Regions from separate parts of the Homo sapiens genome. Here region 2 is linked to region 1. The links are contacts of gene promoters, found by promoter capture Hi-C in blood cells and fetal thymus (Javierre and others, 2016). All regions are on one chromosome and are shown on one strand. Each heading gives the region's core, a stretch centred on a gene start or on the middle of the fragment in contact. The rest is flanking DNA. Distances are from core to core; before and after follow the strand shown.

Evidence for each region. Contacts are between HindIII fragments. The CHiCAGO score rates a contact against its expected background, and 5 or more counts as called.
Region 2: a contact is called between a fragment that was not itself captured here and the fragment with the promoter of HBS1L in region 1, in 2 of 17 cell types (naive CD4 T cells and non-activated CD4 T cells). The highest score is 6.1, in naive CD4 T cells.

What each region holds. Positions count from the first base shown.
Region 1 is chr6:135,052,937-135,059,336 of GRCh38, forward strand. HBS1L (HBS1 like translational GTPase) reads right to left here and starts at 1,886. Exons shown (of 18, transcript NM_006620.4): 1 at 1,713-1,886. The coding sequence starts at 1,755. It overlaps LOC124901405 (a long non-coding RNA gene), which reads left to right and starts at 1,957. Exons shown (of 2, transcript XR_007059775.1): 1 at 1,957-2,550. LOC124901406 (a long non-coding RNA gene) reads right to left here and starts at 5,800. Exons shown (of 2, transcript XR_007059776.1): 1 at 5,683-5,800; 2 at 4,782-5,353. RefSeq lists an enhancer at 2,045-2,094. The HindIII fragment of the contact is 2,164 bases long and covers 424-2,587 here.
Region 2 is chr6:135,208,430-135,214,915 of GRCh38, forward strand. The region is part of intron 15 of MYB (MYB proto-oncogene, transcription factor); the gene reads left to right. The region is part of intron 2 of LOC105378011 (a long non-coding RNA gene); the gene reads right to left. Among named protein-coding and RNA genes, the nearest start is that of MIR548A2, 27 kb to the right of the region's middle. The HindIII fragment of the contact is 587 bases long and covers 3,530-4,116 here.

The DNA of each region.
Region 1 (6,400 bases), core at 636-3,135:
TTTAAATTATTATTCTGAGAATTCAAGAGAAAGCCTAACTGGGAAGAAGAGAAATAAACTGGACCTTAATGAGTACAACTTTTATAAACAAGAAAAGGGGATGAACCTCCTTAATGTTACAGGAACAGCTTGGTTATGATGTCACCAATTGTTTCAAAGAAGCATGACAACATGACAACCTAACCTCAAGAAGCCAAGGTGCTCCCTGAGGCCAACCACCTCTCCTCCATGAAGCATTCCTTAACGTAGAAATCCTGCTTAAATTCCCCCCAATCCATTCTGAATTAAGTGTTCTCATCTGTGTATCCCTCCCATAGCGTTTTCTCAGTACCTTTTGTAGCATTTTTCATACTCTAATAATCTGTAACTCGTATAATCTTCTCCTTTTAGACCACCCTCAAATATCTTACTTTCAGTCCTCAAAGCTTAGAACAGTACTCTAAGCACTAACTTAATGGTGGTTGAGGAAATGATAAACAACTATTAAAGAAATGAATGAATAATAAATAGGCCTATTCATGTACTTTATATTTGCAAAAATCTCTCTCAATCTAAAGTCATTTCTTAGGTGACAATGGTCCACATGCAATACCATCCACTGCAATATTTATTTAAAAGGGCCTCCATTCTAAAGTAACCACCAGAAAATTCACATGTTCTAGACGGACTGAGGTCACAGGTTCCAAATGGAGAACAGGGTGTTAGCTGCCCTCACTCTAGTTAAAGCATACTGATGTTCTATAATAATCTACTGGGGTGCCAATGACAATCACCAACATATTAAGCACTACATGTTCTGCACTTCGTAAAGCATAGTTCTTTATTCTTCTCCTGCATTAGTTCATTTTTGTTTATATTTTTAGTTTATGTGATGCTTGGTGATGCCTATAGTTATCTACTGCATGAAGAGGGATGTGCTCCTCCTAAAAATAATTCTAACTCCTGTTAACTCCTACAGAACATTCATACAGACATTTTTATTTCATTTTTTAATATCAAAAAGTCCTTTCCTATACACTCTTTCCTCTAGTACTGCCGTTTATTTACATTTCAAAATACATTTATATCAAGCATTACCAGCCAAGAACTAAGTATAAACTTCAAGATCCATCTGATCGACTCATTCTTTGGGCCTTTTTAACATGTGTCTTTTCTACCGTCTCCTAAGTTTCCACTTTGAAATTCGTTGAAAAATAAATTAGCGCAAACTGATTCTGCACTAGGTATGTATGGACATACACAAAAGGTTTACCATGTAAATCTAACACAGGTACACGTCCGTTGAATGTATTAAGTCAATCTGTGTTTTACAAATAAGCAACGTTTCATGGACATTTCTCAAAGGGGATCTGGGAGAGAGGAGCTAGAAGCAGGCACGTTAGTGCCCAACATGGGAGGAAACAATGGAAGAGGTGATAATGCTTACGTGCCTAAATATCACCGGATCTCAACCTCACCAATATCCTACCCATATGACGCTATGCAGCACCTCCCCCTCCCCAAATAAAATCAACCCCAGAGGGCAGAAATCATGACTTAAAAACGACGGCATTTGAAAGCACTAGAAGGCCTGTTATATTCCCCAACTGGGGCTCTCCCAATCCCGACAGGGCAACACTGACGAGAAACTCACAGATTGAAGTGGATGCCAACGGGCTAGGATCCCAGCTGTAGCCGGGAAAAGAACGTCCCGGCATGACCCTGCCACCTACCTTCATCGTAGTTATAGCCTCGAACATTCCGATGCCGGGCCATGACGGCGGAGAGGGCGTTTGCCACAGCCCCTTAACTCCTTCCAAAACACTCCGCTTAGATACTGATAAGGCGCCAACTGCAGCCTGGAGAACCCCTATGCGCCATCTTGGCTTCCCGCAGGCCTCTGCGCCGAGCGCCTGCGCAAGCGCGACGTCTTAGCTGTGCACCGCGCGACGGCAATGCCTCAGGGTCACTGTCCGCCTCCCTGAGGGCGCATGCGCACTGCTGTGCATGGCGGGACGAGGGGAGGGAGCGTTTGGGAGTGGCCCCACCCAAAGGTTGGGCGACGGAGGGGGATGGGGAAATCCGCCGCCTAGAATTGACTGGTTTGGACTAAATGTTGCAAGCGGGGAACCTTGAGCTACCTACGCCAGCGTTCTGGATTATTTTCCAAATTTGGTTCCTGATAATCTGAGAAAGCTATGCGCTCAGTAAGAGCAGGGACCTTGTTTTATCAAACTTTGATCTTTCATTAAGCACACAGTGGGCATTCAACAAACTTGTGTAAACTTGGAATCAGATTTAGCCCAGGCCGGTGCGGTGGCTCCTTCCTGTAATCCCAGCACTTTGGGAAGCCTAGGAGGGCGGATCGCTTGAACTCAGGTGTTCGAGACCAGCCTGAGCAACATAGCGAGGCTCCGTCTCTACAAAAAATACAAACACTAGCCGGCCCTGTGGTGCAGACCTGTAGTCCCAGCTACTGAAGAGGCTGAGGTGGGAGGATCCCCTGAGCCCAGGCGGTCGAGGCTGCAGTGAGCTGAGATCGGGCCTCTCCATTCCAGCCCGGGCGACAAAGTGAGTGAGACCTTATCTCAAAAAAAAAAAGAGTCCAAGCTTTAGAGAAGGAAATAAGGCTATTTTTAAACGGGTATATATTATTAAATTGAGACCCTGGCTATATTAGGTCACCCTGCATTCATATAATTTACGACTTCATGTATTCACTCCGTTCGGCATTACTATCCCTAGTAAACAGCGATTTGCCCTTAGCTATGTAAACGATTTTAGCTATATAGACGATATTTATCAGCATCATAAAGAAGGATTCACTGAACATTCATTGAAGACATAATTGTGTGTAACATTGCGAGTATTAAATATAGCTTTTTAGACATAGCACTGGCCTTAGGTGGTAATGCTGAATGTTGTTGATGCATGAATCTATAACCTGCTATTAAATGTCCTCATTTCTCAGAACATAAAGTTAATAATGCTATATAAGAAACCAACCTCATTATACTGAACACCACTTCAGTTTTAGCTTGTGTTTTTGAAATGATGATACTTCACATCAAAGGCAAATGTTGAGTTCTAGAGATAATTAAAAGCTTCCTCAGCTTTTTGCTATGCACAATAGAAAGAAATAAGAGTAATCCAAATTTAGTTTATATTTGTAAGTGGCTTGGAACGTAATTTATTCATGCATTTGAATGTGTTTGACTACAAAAATAGTTGTTTAATGTGGCTCCAAAATAAAAGTTTACAGAAAAATAGAGATAGTTGCTAATGTTACATGGCTTAAGTGTTTTTATTATTTTACACCCTTAGGTAATTTTTATTTTGCAGCCTGTTTCTTTGTAAAAAGGAGATAGAGACACTAACTCGCGAGCTGTGAATAATGTATCCGTATAAGAGGATTTATCACAGATCATAGTAGGTGCTTAAAAATATTGTGTTATTGGCCGGGCGCGGTGGCTGACTCCTGTGATCCCAACACTTTGGGAGGCTGAAGCAGGCGGATCATGAGGTCAAGAGATCAAGACCATTCTGGCCAACATGGTGAAACTCCCTGTCTACTAAAAATACAAAAATTAGCTAGGCATGGTGGCGCGTGCCTATAGTCCTAGCTACTCGGGAGGCTGAGGCAGGAGAATCGCTTGAACCCGGGAGGCAGAGGTTGCAGTGAGCTAAGATTGTGCCACTGCACTCCAGCCTGGAGACAGAGTGAGACTCTGCACCCCCCCAAAAAAATTGTGTTATTAAAATACAAATGGCAGCTTCCACTCCACTGTAATTGTCAATTACAAGCTTAACTACAACTCACTGAGGTATGAAGTGAATGAGTTATAGACCACATAAGCAAAGTACTACAGGAACAATGAATAAGAAAACGTTACTTCTGTCAGATAATATATAATTTGCCCTTAGGTCGTCAATAACGCACTCCTTTAAAACTCTAAATATTGCACAGCATCTACTGCATCTCAAACAGTAGAGCCTCAATGGCAAAGCCTTCACTGACTTCTTCAGAAAAAGTTAGGATTGTTCCACTCCCCTCAGGACTCTGTAAGGTGTGGGCAGGGCACCGTGGCTCACGCCTGTAATCCCAGCACTTTGGGACGCTGAGGCGGGTGGATCACCTGAGGTCAAGAGTTCCAGACCAGCCTGGCCACCATGGTGAAACCCCCATCTTCCACTAAAAATAAAAAAAAATTAGCTGTGCGTGGTGGTGGGTGACTGTAATCCCAGCTACTCGGGAGGCTGAGGCAGGAGAATCGCTTGAACCCAGGAGGCAGGAGTTGCAGTGAGCTGAGATCGTGCCACTGCACTCCAGCCTGGACAACAAGGGCAAAACTCCGACTCAAAAAATAAATGAATAAAACTCTGGTATTGTGTTTTGATGGAAAGTACTATGACTTCGGAGTACCACGAACCTGGATTTCAGTCCCAGTTTTGTTGCTGTTAACCACTTCAGATTTAATGTCTTCATCTGTAAAATCGAATATATGAAAATGTATGTCTTCTGTTTTGTGAAAAGTAAATGATATATGTAAAAACAGTAGGTGTTGCAGAATGGGTACTCAGTAAATGCCACTTCTCTACCCCTACTAATTTCAAAGCTTTATCTTTGTTTCTCCGGCACCCTAATGTCTGGCACTTTAAATGTTTGCTGAATGAATTAATGAGTAAAAGAAGAGAAATAAAATGACATTTCTCTTGCTATGGAATTGTTAATGTCATAAAAAACAATACAAATCATTTTATATTGATTTGTGAAAAAAATTATGAATGAAAGGATAACTACATTACTGAAAAAATGTTAACAACTTTATTGAGATATCATTGACAATAAACTGCACATAATGTGTAATTTTGATACATTTTGACGTATGTATACACCAGTGAAGCCATCAACCCCATCAAGATAATGAACATATCCAGACTTTCAAAATTTTCCTGAAGTACCTTTATATCCAGAATAAAAATTCCAGAATATCCCGGAATCCTTCCTGCCCGTCAAGGCCTCCTCACCATGGCCCCTCAAAATAACTGATCGTCTTTCTGTCACTATGAGTTGTTTGCATTTTTTAAAATTTTATACAGGTGAAATCATATAGTATGTGTTCTTTTTTATCTGTCTTAATTCACTCAGCATAATTATTTTGAGATTCACCTGTGTAGTTGCTTGAATCAACAGTTCATTCCTTTTTATTAGAGGAGGATTCCGCTGTGTGGATATACCACAATTTGTTTTTCCATTCACCCATTGAGAGATATTTGGTTTGTTTTCCATTTTGACGACTGTAAATAAGGCTTCTGTGAATATCTGTGTACGAATCTTCGTATAAACATAAACTAATTTTTCCTGGGTAAATACCTAGGAGTAGAATGATATGATAGGTTATCTTCAGCTTTTTAAAGAAACTGTCAAACTGTTTTCCAAAAACAGTTGTAAAGTTTTATGTTTCCACCAGCAATGTAGTTCCATTTTCTCTATTTTCTCAACATCATTGCCAACACTTCATGAGGTCTAAAGATGTTAAGCTTACGGCCGGGCGCGGTGGCTCATGCATGTAAATCCCAGCACTTTGGGAGGCCAAGATGGGCGGAGCACAAGGTCAGGAGTTTGACACCAGCCTGGTCAACATGGTGAAACCCCATCTCTATTAAAAATACAAAAAACTAGCCGGGTGTGGTGGCACGCACCTGCAATCCCAGCTACTCGGGAGGCTGAGGCGGGAGAATTGCTTGAACCCGGGAGGTGGAGGTCTCAGTGAGCCGAGATCACGCCACTGCACTCCAGCCTGGGCGACAGAGCAAAACTCTGTGTAAAAAAAATAAAATTAAAAAAAGTCAAAATGATAGTTACTTTTGAAGTAGATATTAATGGAGTCAGGAAAGAGAGAATTAAAGGGAGCTTTCAGAGGTGCTGGAGATGTTCTATATATTGATCTGGGTTAGGATTATAAGGTTTTATACATGTATACAATTTTATTTTACTGTACATTTAAAATTTATGCACCTTTCAGTAATAAGTTATACCTCAATTTAAAAACCAAATTAAAAAATGCAAAAATTTATTAAATGGAATTTTCATTCCTGTCTTTAATATATACATATATGTCAGATGTTTCCTTTATGCCTCATAGTGTTGTTTTATTTATTTATTTTATTTTATTTGTATTGACAAGTTCTCACTATGTTCCCCAGGCTGGTCTCAAACTCCTGAGCTCAAGCCATCCTCCCACCTCCACCTCCCAAAGTGCTGGGATTACAAGCATGAGCCACCATGCCCAGCATATAGTGTCCTGTTTTAAAGATCTAAGCACTGTGATACATCTGAGTTAGAATTTACTTAACAATATATCAGTATTTCTCAGAGTATAGTCTGTTCTTCATCCTGTATTTGAAACTAAACAATTAC
Region 2 (6,486 bases), core at 2,573-5,072, 160 kb after region 1:
GGAGTGCAGTGGCAAGATCATGGCTCACTGCAGCCTACCTCCTGGACTCAAGCAATCCTCCTCCCTCAGCCTCCTGAGTAGCTGGGACTATAGGCACATGCCACCATGCCCAGCTAGTTTTTTTTTTTTTTTTTAGAGATGGGGTCTCCCTGTGTTGCCCAGCCTGGCCTCAAACTCCTGGGCTCAAGCAATCCTTCTGCCTTGACCTCCCAAAGTGCTGGGATTACAGGCAGGAGCCACCCTGCCCAGCCTGAAGTATTTTAAAGTAAATTCCAACTAATATAACATTTTATTCTCATGTACTTCCAGATGTGTCTCTAAAAATAGACATTTTTATATATAACCTAATACCATCATTACATATTTAACAATAATTCTTTAATCTTCTCATTCTCAGGTATATTTAAATTTTCCCATTAATCCAAAAAAGAATCAAAATTGAAACAATTTCACACATTGCATTTGGTTAAGCCTCTTAAATCTCTTTTACTCTCTAGTCCAGTGCTGTCTAATAGAACTTCTACAGTGATGTGAAGGAAATATCTAATATGCTGCTATCCACTATGATAGCCAGTGGCTTTTGAGCACTTGAAATATGGCAAGTGCTGCTGAGGAGCAGAATTTTCAATTTGAATTAATTTAAGTTGCTTTAATTTAATAGCCACATTTCCTTACTCTCTTACTGGAATCAGCCATTTCCCCATGGTGCTCTGAATCCTCTTAGTGAGAAATGGTACATAGACACCAAAATCAGGGTGCTAAGTCTGTCCATTGTTATGTGGTTTGTCATTGAGATACAAATAATTTTTTTTGTTTTGTTTTGAGACAGAGTCTCACTCTGTCACCCAGGCTGCAGTGCAGTGGTACAATCTTGGCTTACTGCAACCTCCACCTCCTTGGTCCAAGCTATTCTCCTGCCTCAGTTTCCCAAGTAGTTGGGATTACAGGCACCCACCACCACACTCAGCTAATTTTCGTATTTTTAGTAGAGACATGGTTTCACCATGTTGGCCAGGCCAGGCTCAAACTCCCAACCTCAGGTGATCTGCCTGTCTCAGCCTCCCAAAGTGCTAGGATTACAGGCGTGAGCTGCCACACCTAGCCAAGACTCAGTGAATTTTAATAATCCAGAGCTCTCCATGTATCCCCTAATCTATAATCTACAGTGCTTAAATAGAGGCTTTTATAAGCCATTATGTACACTCATGTTATGTTTGTTTTTTTAATTACTTAGTCTTTTTCCAAAAGGAATTTGCAACAGCTACATAATCTTATAATTGTTATGTTTCTTTTATATTTTCACAGTTGTTTTAATTTTAAATTGTAAAAGCAAACAGGATATTCTTATAATAAAAATGTTCTGAGATGTTTTTCATATTTGTGTCTTTCATGTGGCTCAGAATATATGAGATTTTCATGTCATATCATTGTCAGTATTCAGCCTTTTCTCCACATTGTGTGGGGTAGAGGATAGAGTCTAGAAGCTTATAAAATGGTCACAAATGAGGAAGTAGAGAAAACATTCAGCCTAGAAAGCGTGCATTTGTGGTATGAAAGGCACTGTGGAATGCTGCTGGATTCTGCCCTTCAGTAGTTACCCGAGAGAGACCGAGGCAGACGCATAGCTCCCTCCTCAGCAAGGAGAAAAGAGTTGCCTGCTTTCCTCAGCGTGCTTTCCATTTCCTTTGTTTTGAAAAAAGCACATTATGCTAATCAACTTTCCTTAAGGTAGACATTTTTATTGGTAGATCAAAAACCGTGCTTTAAGTTATAAGCCTTCTGAACTTCTGTATTTTTCTCTTAAATTATAATTTCCTTTTATTCCTATTTAAAACCCAAGTGTAAAAGATGTGTTCATAGGCTTTCTACTCACTCACTTGCCTCTTTTTCGTAACCACAGAATGACAGCCTTAAATTTTAATTTCCTGACTTGGCTTGCCCATGGCCTGACTTTTTTAAAACAAGGAGTTTAAGTTAAAGAAATTTCTCCAGCCATTATTATTTAAACACATTTACACAGTATCAAAGAATTTAAAAATGTTGCTAGCAGTTGATACTCCCCTCAGCTTTCGGTTCAGCGTGTTTTAGATTGCTCCTATTTTGTTATTTGTCTATGAACTTTTATATTTTTCAAAAAAATAAGGCAAGCCCTTTTTGCCTGATAGGCACTGCTGAGCAGTATAATAAACAAGCATGGGGGCAACAGAACCTGGGTTCCAGGCTAGACTCCACTGTTTTCAAACGGCATGACTTTAATTCATCAAGTGAACACAATTAAGCAAAGTATAAGTTTGGGACCATGGAATATCCTTCACTCATCACACAGGTTACTGTGAAGATCAAATGGATATAATATTGCTTTCAAGATGGCGGCACACTTGCCACTATACACAGGTGATATTATTAGGCAGAGTCGCCACATAGTCCCTGTCCTTGAAATGCAGGCAAGGAGCCCTCACCAAAGGCCAGGGTGGTTTTTTGTTTTTCGGGTTTTTGTTTGTTTTTTTCATTGTGGTATATTATTTCCTCTGGCATGCTATTCCCTGTCCCACTCTTACAGAACTGTGTCAGTGGGTCACCAAAAGAGAGAGCTGATTCAACTGATTCCTTGAAATAAAGGTAGTCAGACCTCGCGGTATGATGGAGATGAAGCAACTGATTTACTGGTTTTCTCTATTTTTCTGCTGTTCGTGTTGTCATTTAAACAGACATGGAAACCGTCTGCACACGACAGAGATCTTTCCGAGCCTTTTTCATCTAGTGTGCTGTGCTGACCCGCTCCCCTGGATGCCTGCACACTCATTTGGTTCTCCCTTTTGGTCACTTTTTTCCACTTACCCTGGCAGAAATTCACGTGGCTGTCAGTAGTAATTCAGTGACCTGCTTTCAAAAAATGTTATAAATTAAGCAGCTTTTCTGTGTATAGCTTTTGGGTTGAACTGAGAAGGGCTAAGTGAAGGGAGAAGCTATGTTGAGCTCAGAGTCAGAATGCCCTGCCCCAGACATTTTGAGATGTGAATTTTTCATTTGTTTTGTTTGGTGACACTTAGAGAGAATAAACATTCTGAGATAAAAATCTTCCTTGGGCAGGCCAGCAAAGATAGAATTGCTTTAGAGCAATTTGGCACTTGGTCTTAATCTTAATAGTTTGGAACTCATATGTGACTAAGGAAAAGGATATTGCAAAAAGTTGTGCCACCCTAGGCTATATGATATAAACTTAGAAAGTCTATCAACGTGAAAGGTGAAGAGACCTCTAGAGACATCGGGGACAAACTCCAAATTTGGGAAAGGTCCATCCACATTTGCAATTGTTAGTTAGGCTTGGGAAGTGGAGTCATTGGTGGATGAGGCAACTTCCAATCACCATCTCGATTTTTATTTCCCTAACTTTTAAGATTATTTTCTATAGAAAATCAGTAGTGCTGAAGTTGGAGTCATTTAATTGATTTGTGCCAACCTAGGGAAGCATTTACTCTCGAGAAAAGTTTGGTAACCATTAATCTTACCTTAGCAACATTTCAGTTTAAGCTTATCTCTGACTTTCCAAAGACAACTAAAGATTTCTACAGTCTCTCTTATAACTGATCCATTTTTTCAAAAGATGTCCCTTTGGGAAGGAATTCTCATTTTTAGAATTTTAGTCCAGAGGAAGTATTTTTTTTTCAGATAGGTGAAATAGAATAAGCAGAAAATTCTTATTTTTTACTGTTTTATATACCATTGATGCCTGCTTATTTTAAAACAAAACACAATAAAAACATGATACCATCTGATGAGTTGCTTTGGTTTTACTTTTTTTTTTTTTTTTTTTTTTTTTTTTTTTTTAGTTTATACAAGTTTCTTATTAGGTCAGCAAATTGTAAAACACATAATTTGCCAAGGCTTTTGAAGCCAGCAGATACTGGGTGAAGTTGCTGTATGAATATAATAATAAGAACCGTTTTTGTTCAGCTTGATGAAAAAACTATTCATGTTCTAAATGAAAATGTGAAGATCATCTAATTCTGACAGAAAACCACCTGTGGACATGGTCTTGTTTCTTTTTATTTCTTCTGTTTTCTACAAAAGATGGCAATATTTATTTAAAGTGCTTTAACAGGATATCCCAGTTAAAGCTTTGACAGACTGTTTATAGTTCACTTCTGCCCAGGGGCAATTAAAGGCACATTACAGGATAAGCGAGATGACTCCCCGGCCACAGGAGGAGGATGTGTGGGTAGGATTATTAATGTTGAAATGAATTATGATAGAGTGACATGTCTGCAAGAGCACCATGGGTTAGTAACTTAACAAGAATTCATATGCAGAAACCCATAATTCTCAGCAGTTCTTTAGGGTAAATGAAACTAAAGTTTAGGGAGAGAGAACAAGGAGAATTTGCAAAGATATGTATGACAGTATTTAAAAATGTTCTTCCAGCACAAAGACATTAATCTTCCTTTGTCAAAATAATTCTTTCTGCATGAAAAGTTGGCATGGGGCTCCCAGGCTTCAGGTAAGATGGGAGAAAGGGAGCGTTTCTTTTTTTTTGTACCAAAGTACTCAATCTTCTGATCTTCCTTGACTTTCACGACATAGGCATATGTCTACTCTGACCAGTTTGTTTCATTTATTGTGGTAAGATGTGCTTGTCTTGTGCTTTCCTGGTGCAGAAAAGGAGCTGCCTCGCTCATGCTTGGTGGCCTTTTTGTTCCTACACACAGTGGTTCTCGTACATGGTGGCTACCACATCCTGGTGTTTGTCTATACTGGGAGAATCAGGCGTTCCAAGTCATCTTGGCTGCCCTAGCTCTGAGCTTCAGGGGATATATGACTCAGAAATGCTATGCTTTCTGGAATTTGGATATTTCATTTTTATTTGTTTCTTGGTAAATTCTCTTTTGACTTAGGAGAAGCTAACTATTTGGAAAGGTCTCTCAGAACTCTAATTACAAATATATGGTACCTTCTTTATATTGATCTCATTTTTAAATACCTAGTCCTGGAGGAAGAGCTAAATATGAATACAGTGATGAGCTGTGTAGGGGATCTCACAGGAACACAGTCAGATTTCAAGTTGAAAATAGATTCAGTTGATAATACTTAGTACTAGATTCTCCTGAATCGACTTTGGGAATTCTGAGTCAACCTAAGGACTATATTACAAAGGATCAGACCTTGACTTTTAGGCCAGGTGTAGTGGCTCATGCCTGTAATCCCAGCACTTTAGGAAGCCAAGGCAAGTGGATCACTTCAGTCCAGGAGGTTGAGACTAGCCTGTGCAACACAGCGAGACCCTGTCTCTACCAAAAATACAAAAATTAGCCAGGTGTAGTGTAGCACCTGCCTGTAGTCTGAGCTACTGAGGAGGCTGAGGTTGGAGAATCAACTTTAACCCCGGATATGGAGGCTGCAGTGAGCTGTGATCATGCCAGCCTGGGCAAGGAGCAAGACCCTCTCTCAAAAACGAAAACAAAAAAGACACAGAACTTGACTTTTAACAGGAGGCATAGTAATAGCAAGCATAAGATTGTTTTAACATAGCATTTAAGATAATTTACGCATTTAGAAAATTAATTCTGGCTGGTTGTAGTAGCTTATCCTTAATCCTAACCCTATGAGAGGCCAAGGCAGGAAGATCACCTGAGGCCAGGAGTTTGAGACCAGCCTAGGCAACATAGCGAGACCCCCGCTCTCTACAAAAAATTTTTTTTAAAAAACATAGCTGGGCATGGTGACACACTCCTGTAGTCCCAGCTACTCAGGAGGCTGAGGCGGGAGGCTTGCTTGAGGCCAGGAGTTTGAGGGAGCTGTGATCACGCCCCTGCACTCCAGCCTGGGCAACAGAATGAGGCCCTATATCTAAAAAAAAGAAAAATGGACAAGAAAATTCTATATTGATTGAAGCCCAGCTAAATAGAAAAAAAAAAATTCTAATAGGCCATTTTAAAGACTTTGGAAAAATTCTTAGCTAGAGTAAAACAGAAGCAATCCTTTCTTTCCTGGTTCTCACATCTCCATTCTCACCTTCATTCCCCTTCCCCTCCATTTGTTTCAAGTATTTTTCTTTTCTATGTGTGTCTTTATGTAAATTTAAATTTACCTACAAGATATTATGATATTAAGATATTTCATTCTGCTTCCTGTTTTGTCACTTGTTCTTTAAGATCCAAGTCCTTGGCTCCATGTGCATCTAATCCTTGCCATAAGCCCTGCATCGTACTTCATATTCACCATATTGAACTATTCACCCTCAAGTAGTCACTATTAAATGTCACACTGTTGTAGCGACTACAAATGCAAGCTCAGTAACTGAAAAGATAACATTAAATTTTGTTTTTTAATTGGTTTCCTGTGTCAATTTCATGTTTCGGGAATTTGTATGGACAGATAGACACCAGAGAGATATGCGTATTTCACCTGCATGCTTGAGGCTAGAGAAACATGATTTATTCAGAACTATTTCAAATACTGTAACTAACCTGGTAATTTTGTTTAGGAAAA